Linked DNA regions of Homo sapiens: region 1 is linked to region 2. Evidence: promoter capture Hi-C in 16 types of primary human blood cells and fetal thymus (Javierre and others, 2016). All regions are on one chromosome and are shown on one strand. Each heading gives the region's core, a stretch centred on a gene start or on the middle of the fragment in contact. The rest is flanking DNA. Distances are from core to core; before and after follow the strand shown. Region 1 overlaps BAZ2A (bromodomain adjacent to zinc finger domain 2A). Region 2 holds the start of LRP1-AS (LRP1 antisense RNA).

Region 1 (5,709 bases), core at 102-2,601, 530 kb after region 2:
AGAGAAGTTCATAATTCCATATGGAGGTGTTGCTGCCAGGATTGGGTCTTTTCCTGGATTTGGCTTACCAGTTGCTCTGTACCATGACTCGCCAGGTACCTCTGTAATCTTGCTTGGGTTTCAAGTCCTTTATACTTGGAAGCAGAGAGAAGCCCACATGCTTCCCTCCTTTCTTGTAGCAGAAAAATCCTGCTACTTCTCCCTCCGATCCTCTCGAAGAGGGTTGCAGATGGTAGAAGCTCCTTTATTTCATTGGATTCCACCCTACCCTCAAGCTTCCTTAATATCTTGGTTCTTTTTGATTGATTGTCCTCCATCCCAGAGGTTGCCATTGATGATGAGAGCTGAATTCTACAGCACACAAAGTGCCCCCCCTACCCCGCCAGCTGGCATATTACCTTCCAATGCCTATAGGGAAGGGCCAAGCCCAGCCTTCTGAGCTGGGTTCTTGTCGCTGTGGTGACTGCAAATTCTATTCTTAGCCCAGCACAAAGTGCTGGATCTGCATGTGCCAGTGAGGTGGAGGTTGTTCCTTTTGGTACCACTGTGGGGCCAAATAGGCACTGGGGAAAGGGGGCCCCTAGCGAATTCAGTCATGCCCCTCCAAGGGAAGAAATCCCCTAGGGAATGAGAGTAGGGCAGAATGCAAGTCACTGTAGGGAGTCTGCAAACAGTTTCATTTAATTAAAAACAAAAAAAAAGGCCAGGCGTGGTGGCTCACGCCTGTAATCCCAGCACTTTGGGAGGCCGAGGCAGGTGGATCACGAGGTCAAGAGATGAGACCATCCTGGCCAACACGGTAAAACCCCGTCTCTACTGAAAATACAAAAATTAGCCGGGCGTGGTGATGGGCGCCTGTGGTCCCAGCTACTCGGGAGGCTGAGGCAGGAGAATCACTTGAACCAGGGAGGCAGAGGTTGCCGTGGGTCGAGATTGCACCACTGCACTCCAGCCTGGTGACATAGCGAGATTCCGTCTCAAAACAAACAAACAAAAAATAAACCAAAAAAAAGCCAGCAGTAAGCAGCAGCAACCAGCTCTGCTGGTGGCTCTCATGGTAGGCCTGGAGAGCTCTCTAGCCCCCTACTCAGCCTCAGCAGCAGTTGCTAAACCTACATCCAGGAGCCTCTGGGCTTGGTGTTCTCCAGAGACCCAAAAACTAAATATAGCAGGGGAGGAATCCCCCTTCCCTTTACCATGTCTTTTTCTAGTCAGTGCTATTACTTTGAGTTTGTTTTGGTAAAGTTGCTTGCCTACATATCTGTAACTGACCTTTTCTTTCTTTCTCTGCCAGGTTTGAATGGGGATGTGAATGTTAATGGCTTATCTACTGTATCTCACACTACTACTTCAGGGATTTTGAACTCTGCTCCCCACTCCTCCAGCACCTCACACCTCCATCACCCCAGCGTGGCCTACGACTGTCTCTGGAACTACTCACAGTACCCATCTGCCAATCCTGGCAGCAACCTCAAGGACCCACCCCTTCTCTCCCAGTTCTCGGGGGGACAATACCCACTCAACGGCATCCTTGGGGGCAGCCGGCAACCTTCATCCCCAAGTCATAACACTAACCTTCGGGCTGGGAGCCAAGAGTTCTGGGCCAACGGTACCCAGAGTCCCATGGGGCTTAACTTTGATTCACAAGAACTGTATGATTCCTTTCCTGACCAGAATTTTGAGGTGATGCCCAATGGACCCCCTAGTTTTTTCACCTCCCCACAGACTTCTCCTATGTTGGGATCTAGCATTCAAACCTTTGCACCCTCCCAGGAGGTAGGCAGTGGTATCCATCCTGATGAGGCAGCAGAAAAGGAGATGACTTCAGTTGTGGCAGAGAATGGCACTGGCTTGGTAGGCAGCTTGGAGCTGGAAGAAGAGCAGCCAGGTATAACTGGGTTGGTGAACTGGGTGGGGAAAGGAAAAATGGAGCTCGGGGGGGATAGTGGCTTTTTGAGGTGAGAAAAACTTGTCTTTCCAGCTCTCTGCAGTGGAGGCTGATTTGCATGTTGGTGATTAGCAATTAGCAGAGCCAAGTGGCTGGTGTTTTTGTGGCAGCAGCACCAGCTCGCGAGTGGGAGTGCAAATTATTTCAAGCTCATGCAGAGCTTCTGGCCTGGAGAGGGCAGGTGGGCGAGCCCGAAACAGCCCCAACAGACACCCTGCATCAAGAAAGGCTTCTTTCAAAATATACGGAGTGGTTAGGGTCTAGCAGCGGGCATTGAGGCTGTTTTAACTGACTGTGGCAGGATCAGACTGGCTGTTAAAGTCGTCTGAGCCCAATGTAGTGATTGGCATGCGAAGGAGGGAAGGAAGCAGGCAGAGCATATCATTATTTGTCTACTCAGTTTCCTTTTTTTTGTTGTTTAGCATTAGTACACGTGACAGCCCCTCTCATCTTTTCCCTCAAAATAGATAAAAGCTTAGCTTCCAGTTGATTCCTGGTACAAGGGTAACCACCACTCTGTAAAATTACAGGATGTTTTCTCGTTTCCCAATGGATGGAGGAGATATCTGAGAACATGATAGAGATGTTGTATCAGACCCCACTCTCTTTTCCTCTCTTTGCCTGCTGTAGGATTGATTTTACCAGCACATCTCTGCTCAGAGTATCTTGATGTGATCGGTTCCCAGCAATGAACTGGCCGCAATAAATGTTGAATGAATGAACATCCTTCTAGCAAAGATTGACTGCCTAGTATAGCTAAGTGAACCAATATAAGGCACTGATTTTGACTTTTGGTCTCTCCTGTGATTTCCTAGAACTGAAGATGTGTGGCTACAATGGCTCTGTCCCTTCTGTGGAATCGTTACACCAAGAGGTCTCAGTCCTGGTCCCTGACCCCACAGTGAGCTGTTTAGATGATCCTTCACATCTTCCTGATCAACTGGAAGACACTCCAATCCTCAGTGAAGACTCTCTGGAGCCCTTCAACTCTCTGGCACCAGGTAGGTTTGGAGGCTATGTCCCTTTAACTTATCCATGCAGAGTAGCCAAACTTTACCTGAAAGAGACAGTAAAATGGGAAAAGTATTAGGCAATCAGGGGCACTGGGGCTTCCAGGTAGGCCTAAGGCAGACCACAGTTACATGCCACAGGACTTGGTGCCCTAACTGAATTCTGAGCTGAATTGGTTCATGTCCCAGGTTCTTTCCCAGTATTCCTTTTGGCCAAGAGCTCTGGGCTGTAATAATTCACTGGGTAGGGACTTATTATCACACAGTTGATCTTTCTGGGTTCTGACAAACTAGGAAGAAAACATTTGTCAGTGAGCAGTTACCTTTTACTCCACTGAAGTACAAGAAAGACATATTTTATGATAAATCCTAGAATTTTGCATAGGTCTCTGGGTAGATAATACCACCAATGCCTTTCCTTTCATTTTCACCTTGTAGAGATGAGGTCTTGCTATGTTGTCCAGGCTGGTCTTGAACTCTGGCCTCAAGCAATTCTTCTGCCTCGGCCTCCCCTCAAACTTTTATGATCCCTATAATCTCATGACTACTCTTTCAGGGAGAAGGCTTTACTTGTTACCTAACTTAATATTAGGAAGAATCTTCACATTGTGGGAACTAGAATTGGATGTTTTCTGACCAGTGTTTCTTAAATCTTGCTTTCTGATTTTTTTCTCATTATCCTGCTCTGATTTTTCTACCCTTGTAAACAGAGCCAGTGAGTGGAGGACTATATGGTATTGATGACACGGAGCTGATGGGTGCAGAGGACAAGCTGCCTCTTGAGGACAGCCCTGTGATTTCTGCCCTTGATTGCCCTTCCCTCAATAATGCTACTGCCTTCAGTCTCCTGGCAGATGATAGTCAAACATCAACCTCTATCTTTGCCAGTCCCACCTCTCCACCTGTCCTAGGGGAGTCTGTCCTGCAAGGTAAGTGACGGTAGGTAGGACAAAGAAAGACCTTTACCTGAGAAAAGATGAGAGAATAAGTTTCATAGTTAGGGCCTTAAGAGTGGGAAATCTGGCTGGGCGCAGTGGCTCACGCCTGTAATCTCAGCACTTCGGGAGGCCGAGGCGGGTGGATCACCTGAGATCAGGAGTTTGAGACCACCTGGCCAACATGGTGAAACCCCGCCTCTACTAAAAATACAAAAATTAGCCAGGTGTGTTGGCACATGCCTGTAATCCCAGCTACCTGGGAGGCTGAGGCAGGAGAATCGCTTGGCCCCAGGAGGCAGAGGTTGCAGTGAGCCGAGATTGTGTCGTTGCACTCCAACCTGGGCAACAGAGCAAGACTCCATCTCAAAAAAAAAGTAGGAAAGCAAGAGCACCTTGCTGGGAGCTGAGGGGCTATGGGATAGTGTATGGTGGAACTAAAAGAGGTATAGGCTGCTATACTCCGACCTGTGCCCTCTGCTTTGAAGAACTTGTGAGACTTGGAATTTGTAGGGAGAAGGAGGCTAGAAGCTTTATTGGCACCAGGTAAAAGGTATTTCTTCACACAATGACATCTGTAGCAACTTTACCCTTTAATCCTCATGATTGGTTGGGAGAAAAAGCTACTTCTTTTTCCAACCCTAGGGAAGACCCCTTGAAGTAACCCTGTTTAGCTTGGTCCAGGGTTGACTGAGTAGATTCTCTTGTTTTATGTGATGCCTTTTTTTTTTTTAAAGCCTATCCTGTCCCTTTGGATTCTAGATAACAGCTTTGACCTGAATAATGGTAGTGACGCTGAACAGGAAGAAATGGAAACTCAATCTTCAGACTTCCCACCATCCCTGACCCAGCCAGCTCCTGATCAGTCATCCACTATTCAGCTACATCCAGCAACCTCACCAGCAGTCTCGCCAACAACCTCCCCAGCAGTCTCCCTAGTGGTTTCTCCAGCAGCCTCCCCAGAAATCTCTCCAGAAGTTTGTCCCGCAGCTTCTACAGTTGTCTCTCCAGCAGTCTTCTCAGTGGTCTCTCCAGCTTCCTCAGCAGTCCTCCCAGCAGTCTCCTTAGAAGTCCCGTTGACGGCTTCAGTGACATCCCCAAAAGCCTCTCCCGTAACTTCCCCAGCAGCTGCCTTTCCAACAGCCTCCCCAGCAAATAAGGATGTCAGCAGCTTTCTAGAAACCACTGCTGACGTGGAAGAGATCACTGGAGAAGGACTCACTGCTTCTGGTAGTGGTGAGTATCCAGATTCTATTCTATCCCTGTCTGGTTCCAAGAAACTTTTCTGTCCCATGTTGTAGTTAGCCTTTCCCTATTGGCCTATTGTTTAAATATTTTGCTTGAACTCTTAACTTGGGTATCCCTTCCTCCCAAGGTGATGTCATGAGGAGACGTATTGCTACCCCAGAAGAAGTTCGTCTTCCCCTCCAACATGGGTAAATGCTCTAGTTTGCTACATTTATTGACCTTGACAAGTTTAATGCACAACTCTAGAAAGAAGGGAATGCCTCTTTTCCTCTGAGGTGGGGGAGGAATGGGCCAGACAAGAGTAGATTACAGGACAGTTATCTGCAGTGATAATGTTTCTTGGCATGAGATTCCTAGGTTTTCCTTCTTCTCTCAAGGTCTGTCTTCCATCACCTATTCTTTTTTCATCTTGTAGTGACTCAATTTTGCCCAAGGAGCTCCAGCTATTATCTTTTCCAAACCCTAGGGCTCACATCCAAACCAGCTGGCTTGTCCTATTTCTGTGGACAAGGGATAGTAATGAATGAGGAGTGACTTAGTACTAATGAATTGAGGTGGTTTTGTTGTT
Region 2 (5,710 bases), core at 685-3,184:
TCTATTGAGAAATCCTTGCCGGGCTCTAAAACACATCTCTCTTGCTTAAGTTACTTCCTTTGGCTTGAAAACAGCAAGGGGAGTGCTGGGAGCAGTCTGGGTGGAGAGGCAATTTCAAGGAGACAGCGGGGGAGGAGAGGACAGGGCTGGATCTGGGCCGGGAGACACAGGGCTGGCCCGGGCCAGGAGAGAGGAGGAGCAAGAGTGAGCTGTTAAATGATTAGGAAACTCAGAACAGGAATGGGAAGCAAAAGTGCCAGGATGCAGGGGGCCTAAGGCCAAAGAGTGGGGTGGCTAGAGCCACCCCTCCCCAAACAGCCTGGCATCCCATGGGTCAGAAAGGCCAAGGATGGGCATGGTTAGCTTTCACATGTGAAGTCTGGAAGTGCTTTGTAGGCAGGGTGGGAGGCTGAGAGGGTCCAGGGGTGCCCAGCACAGTGGGGAGGTAGCACCCCTTCCAGCAGCAGCAGCCAGTTCATTAGACTCAGAGGGACTGCTGTCTGCCCCTTCTTTGCCTCCCCTCTAGACAAATCACTACCCCATTTCCTGTTGTGATTTCGAAAACACACACACTAAAAAAATAAATAAATAAAAGAAAGGGAGAGGAAGGGAAAAGTGAAGTTGGCCAGCTGGACCTGGGACCCATTTCGCAACCTTGCTGCCTGCAGCCTAGGGGCCCTTTGCTGAGCTCCCCAGCCACCTCCTTCTTCCCCATGCAGCATGGTGCAGGGAGGGGAACCCTGAGACCTCTGAGAGCCCCTTCAGACCATCCTTTCACACACAGTCCAAACTCCTGAGTGACTTCAGCAAACCCGATTTCCTTCAAGGCCTCTATTTACAACCTCAGAACCTCCCCTCACCATACACACCCATGTTCCCAGGACCCCAATCTTGCAGTCTGCCTCATTCTTTCTACAGTGGTGGCATCCTCCAAGGTGAAGGGAATACAGATCAGAGGAGCTCAGCTTAGGAAATGCAGGGCTGGGCTGGGGTCGGTAGACTGCACCACCAGGCCTGCCCAGGGGCAGCCTGGCAGGAGGCTGGACAAAGCTGGGTTACAGGCTCCATAGGCCTCTGGAGCTGAGAGACTGGTCAGAGGTGGGGGTGAGAGTGCGCAGGCCTGGTTCCTGACTAAGGGACTATCAGGCCTGTTGATCCCTCTGGGCCTCAATTTTCAGAACTTTAGTCTTTTGTGTATCACTTTCAAAATGTCTACCATGCTTATGTACAGCTTGCGCTACTGTTTATTACCAGTTATTTCAATTAACTTACTTTTCTTATTTCGCTGCATGCTAAACAATTGCTGAAGTAACAGATTTGATGTGCTAGTTACAGGAGTTTCCTAATGCATATCAAATAAAAACGTAACTATAACAGTTAAAAAAAAAAAAAAAAAGCTTGTCCAGGTACCATCTAAAATCAAATCAATGCATAGCCCCTTTGAGAAAGCAGTAGTGAAAGCCAGGGCTGCTCTTGGTACTGGCCAAGGGTCTTGCCTTCTCTTCCGGCTCTCACCATGGAGTTCTCTGGTCTTGGAATTCGAGCCTCATAGACCTCCCCAAACCACTGGGCCAGCGGCAGAGGGGAGGGGGAGGTAATCTCAGGTGGGAGGAAAAGAGATGACCCACCCAATCCAGGGGGATAACACTGGGCCTGAGGCAGGAGGGTCAGCAGCCCTGGGGCATTGAAGAGGAATGTTCACACACTGCAGGGCCTCAGGGGGGCCCTCGGGGGCTCTCAGGACTCCACAACAGGTCTGACTCACATGGCCCAGGACACATGTGAACCAGGCTCATTTCCTGGCCTCCTTCCTTCTTTCTATTCTATTTCTGCTTCCAGAGTTTTCTCTGGGGCAGGCTCCCCCTTCTGCCTGCACCAGCGGGCTGGCCTCGCTGGCTCGAACACCCCTCAATTGTCAGACTCCTCCCTCTGTGTGCACCCCTGCTGCATGAGGCTCAGCCCCAGGGGTCCAACAGAGGTCACAGTCACAGCACAGAATGGAAGGCTTGCAGGGAGGGCTGCCCTGGAGGGCAGAGTGAAAGCAGGGGAAAGCTGCAGCCTTTCTTCTTCGTCCTCCTTGGGGAGCTAATTACAGGCCAGCAGCCACTGTGCAGGTGAGTGCCTGGGACCAGCCACCCTACACACCAGGGCAGGCCAGTCAGCATCTCCTGGGGAGGGGGATGACCCAGAAACTGGGGGAGGGGCTAGGGGAGAGACACTGACGTCCTCAGTTTGGGACCCATAATTAGTTTGTGGGAGAGAGCAAAACAACCATCCTCAGGGTGACAGCCAGACATTCAGGCGGCAGGGACGTGGAGCAGGGGGAGGGCAGGGAGGAAGGGACAGAAGCTGGGATGAGAGAAACCCACTCATTTACCCCACAAGCATTTCCCCTTGGACTCTTCTAGCCTCCTGGACTCTGCCCCTGAGAGGCCCAGTGAGTTTAGCAGACTGGGAGGCAAGGCAAATCTGTTTGCCAAGGGAGGGGTACCAGCTTCTCCTGGGGAGGAAGTCAGATAAGGAGATGAGGCCAGAGTAGAAGTTGAGAAGGTTACCTCCAGGACACCCCATAGCCACCTACCCAGAAGCCCACTGTATGGCAAGATGCAGGGCTGGGGAGGAAACTGACAAGCTGTCTGCCCAGACAGGCCTGTTGAGTAGGTCAGTGGACAAGGAACAGGGGGAGGGCAGCTGCACAAGAGGGTCTAGCACCAATCCCACCCCATCAGCCATGGGGTTCCCTGAGTCGCCCACTCGTTAAGAGCTCAGCCAACCAGGCTTGACAGCCCCCAGCTCAGCACCCCAAGGAGGACACATGTCTGATCACAGGTGAGCTGTGGACAGCAGCAGCCCAAGGACGCTATCAGGGATGCTCTGGAGGAGCCAAAGGCAGAAATGTGAACCTTACGCTGAGGCCACGGAGAGTGAGGGCTCTCAGAGGAACCCCTGCTCGCCACCATCCCGGGGAGGGGCCTTTCTCTCTCCCAGAATGAATCCCTTGTAACCTCCTGGGATCTTTCTTTTCATCACAAGAACCAAATAAAGAAACTTGAAGATCTTCTAGAGAGGCCCAAGGTTCACAATCCTCAACTTCAAAGTGTGCTGTCCTTTACCACTGGCTTTCACTCCAGTTAATCTGATCTAGACAGACAAGCTCAAACCCATTATGCAGATTAGGAAACCAAGGCAGAGATGGGAATTCTGGTTTACTAAACAGTTACAGATCAAGTTAATCTCCCTTAGGGGGTCAGATCAACCACAGGCCAGATTCTTCCTCTCAGCCCTGTGGTGCATTTCTTTGGAAATGTGATGCTGCCAGATGTTGACTTTTAAGGTTGCTGGTGTAACAGCCTCTGAGATGGGCAGGGCTGTTCCCGGCAGTGGGTCTACACCCAGCTATGCTCGTGCCCCTTTCTGTGACACCCCTTCTTCCACAACTAGGATAGCAAAAGTGTAGCCTAGGGAGAAGCCTGAATGGAAGCATCCAGGATATTCTAAAATCTCATGTGGCTCACGCTCCTCTCCCAGCCTCATTCACTGCCACAAAGCCACAGAGAAATAACCTCAGTACTGCCCTCCCCCGATGGCAGCAGAGAGTCCATTGGCAATGGTCCCCGAGGGAAACGATGGCCCATGGAGACAGAGCAGCTGGGCCCCAGCTCCTTTACCCTCAGCTGCAGCCTAACAGGGCACCTCAGGCTTCCGCTCCTTCTTTCCCTAGCCTTGGCTCCCACTGCACCGGAAAGTCCCTCTGCAGTCTAGTCAACACTCCCCTCTCAGAGAAGGGACAGTCCCTGGTCTCTGGAGATTGACCATTCACTGCCCCCTCAGCCCTTGGCCAGAAATGCAGGGGCCATCCAGACACTTGCTCAGAGAGCTGGGAGGGAGCGTGCCGGTGGCTCTGCCCCTGCCTCAAACACACACCATTGTATCCAGCCTCCTGCTTCTCCTGCCCCAGACAGGACCATCCTGTGTAACTCCCGGCCTCTGTTCAAGATAGGGTCCACCTTCCCTGTCTCCCCTACCCTCCCCAGCCCTCCAAGCTGAGAGCAGGTGACTCACGGTGCAGACTGAGGGAGATGTTGATGGTGTGCTCATCCACGAAGCCCTTTAGGCCAGGCATGCGGGCACACTTGAGCTGCGTCTGAGCAGCACTGTCCCCAACATGCACCCAGCATACGGTCTCGTTGGCATAGCTGAAGTCCATGGCTGTGGTCTGCCGCGTGCTCGTAGGTGTGATGGTAGACACCTGGGCCCCACTCAGGTACGTGGCCAAGATGTTCTGGGAGTTGGCTATCAACAGCACAGGGGGCCGGTCTACTGGCTCTGGGAATGGGGAAGAGAAGAGTCCGTGCAGCCAGGGCTCTAGGACCACCTCTCAGGCCACCACCCACCAGGGAACAGCATTGAGGGGGCTTAGTTAGCACTGTGGCCAGAGGCAACCCCACCCACCGTTCTTGGCCTTGCAGGAGCGGTTATCCGGCTGCAGGAGGTATCCTTCAACACAGCCACATATGAAGGAGCCGTCTGTGTTGGTGCATAGCTGGCTGCAGGTGCCGTACACTGAGCACTCATCAAAATCTGCCGAGGAAAGGGCAAGAATGTGGTCATTTCCAGTGTGACAAGGGCAACGAAGTGGGTGATCATCAGACATGATCAACATGTCCATCCTTACAGCTACCTTGAAGGACAGTTCGGCAGAATCTATTACAGCATGAAATGTGCAAACCTTAACACCCAGCAAGTCCAGTCTTGGAATCCACTCTAGAGAAACACTCGTGTACATATCACTCATCCACGCAGGGAAGATTTATTGAGTCCCTACTATGGGTCAGGTGCCAGGGGTGCATCAGTGAACTTTAAAATAGACCCACATTGCTGTCCTCATGAAACTTATATTCAGATAATAAATGAAATATAGTTACTATAATAACATATGAAACAAAGTAAATAAAGTATACATTAGAGGTGCTAGTGCAATGAAAAGAGAACAGGGATAGAGAATGCAGATGGCAGGGATGCAGTTTTAGAGGGGTCGGGGGACGGCTTCACTGAGAAGGTGGCATTTGCACAAAGACCCGAGGGAGGCAAATTTAAAACAGAAAAGTTTGCATTGCTTGTAGCAGTGAAAAATTGGGAACATCTCACTCATCAACAGGGAGGTGACCAAGTAAACTGTGGTAAAAGTCATACGTCATAGTGGTTTCTAAAAGAATGATGTAGATCTTTACATATTAACACAGAAAAAAAAATTGTGGAACATACTGATGAGTGAAAAACATTGAAAATAATATACACAGTATACTATTGTTTATGTAAAAAAGAGCACGCAGTACTCTTGAGCAGTACTTCCAATTAGATTTTCTGTGAATACCCAGAGACAAATGCACAAAAAAGGGCCTGAAAGAGAGAGAGCAAACTGATAATAGAGTTGAACTCCAGGGAGATGGGAAGGGGACCGGAATTGAGGGGGATTTGTCAAAGGGGACTTTGGTTTTATCTGTTAATGCTCTAATTTTTTACAACAGAAAAATTTACATATAAACTATAATTTTAAGGTGAATTTTTAGAAGTCTAGTGGAAGCAAATGGTTAGGGCTCACAGTCATGCCCTGGGGTGGTGGCACCCCCTCTCTTGCACCTTCCTTCTAGTTTCTTATTCCAGCCAGGCCCCCTACCCCTCTCTGCCCCTCCCTGCCCACCTCAACTGG

The links. Contacts are between HindIII fragments. The CHiCAGO score rates a contact against its expected background, and 5 or more counts as called.
Region 1: a fragment that was not itself captured here is called in contact with the fragment with the promoter of LRP1-AS in region 2 in 1 of 17 cell types (monocytes); the score reaches 5.0 in monocytes.

Annotation. Positions count from the first base shown.
Region 1 is chr12:56,611,193-56,616,901 of GRCh38, reverse strand. BAZ2A (bromodomain adjacent to zinc finger domain 2A) reads left to right here. Exons shown (of 29, transcript NM_001300905.2): 3 at 1,295-1,888; 4 at 2,764-2,949; 5 at 3,669-3,887; 6 at 4,656-5,129; 7 at 5,269-5,329. Among named protein-coding and RNA genes, the nearest start is that of BAZ2A, 16 kb to the left of the region's middle. The HindIII fragment of the contact is 2,147 bases long and covers 278-2,424 here.
Region 2 is chr12:57,143,843-57,149,552 of GRCh38, reverse strand. LRP1-AS (LRP1 antisense RNA) reads left to right here and starts at 1,934. Exons shown (of 2, transcript NR_131938.2): 1 at 1,934-2,114; 2 at 4,470-4,933. It overlaps LRP1 (LDL receptor related protein 1), which reads right to left. Exons shown (of 89, transcript NM_002332.3): 5 at 4,453-4,581; 6 at 4,063-4,326. RefSeq lists enhancers at 1-534, 2,392-3,320. The HindIII fragment of the contact is 5,560 bases long and covers 1,400-5,710 here.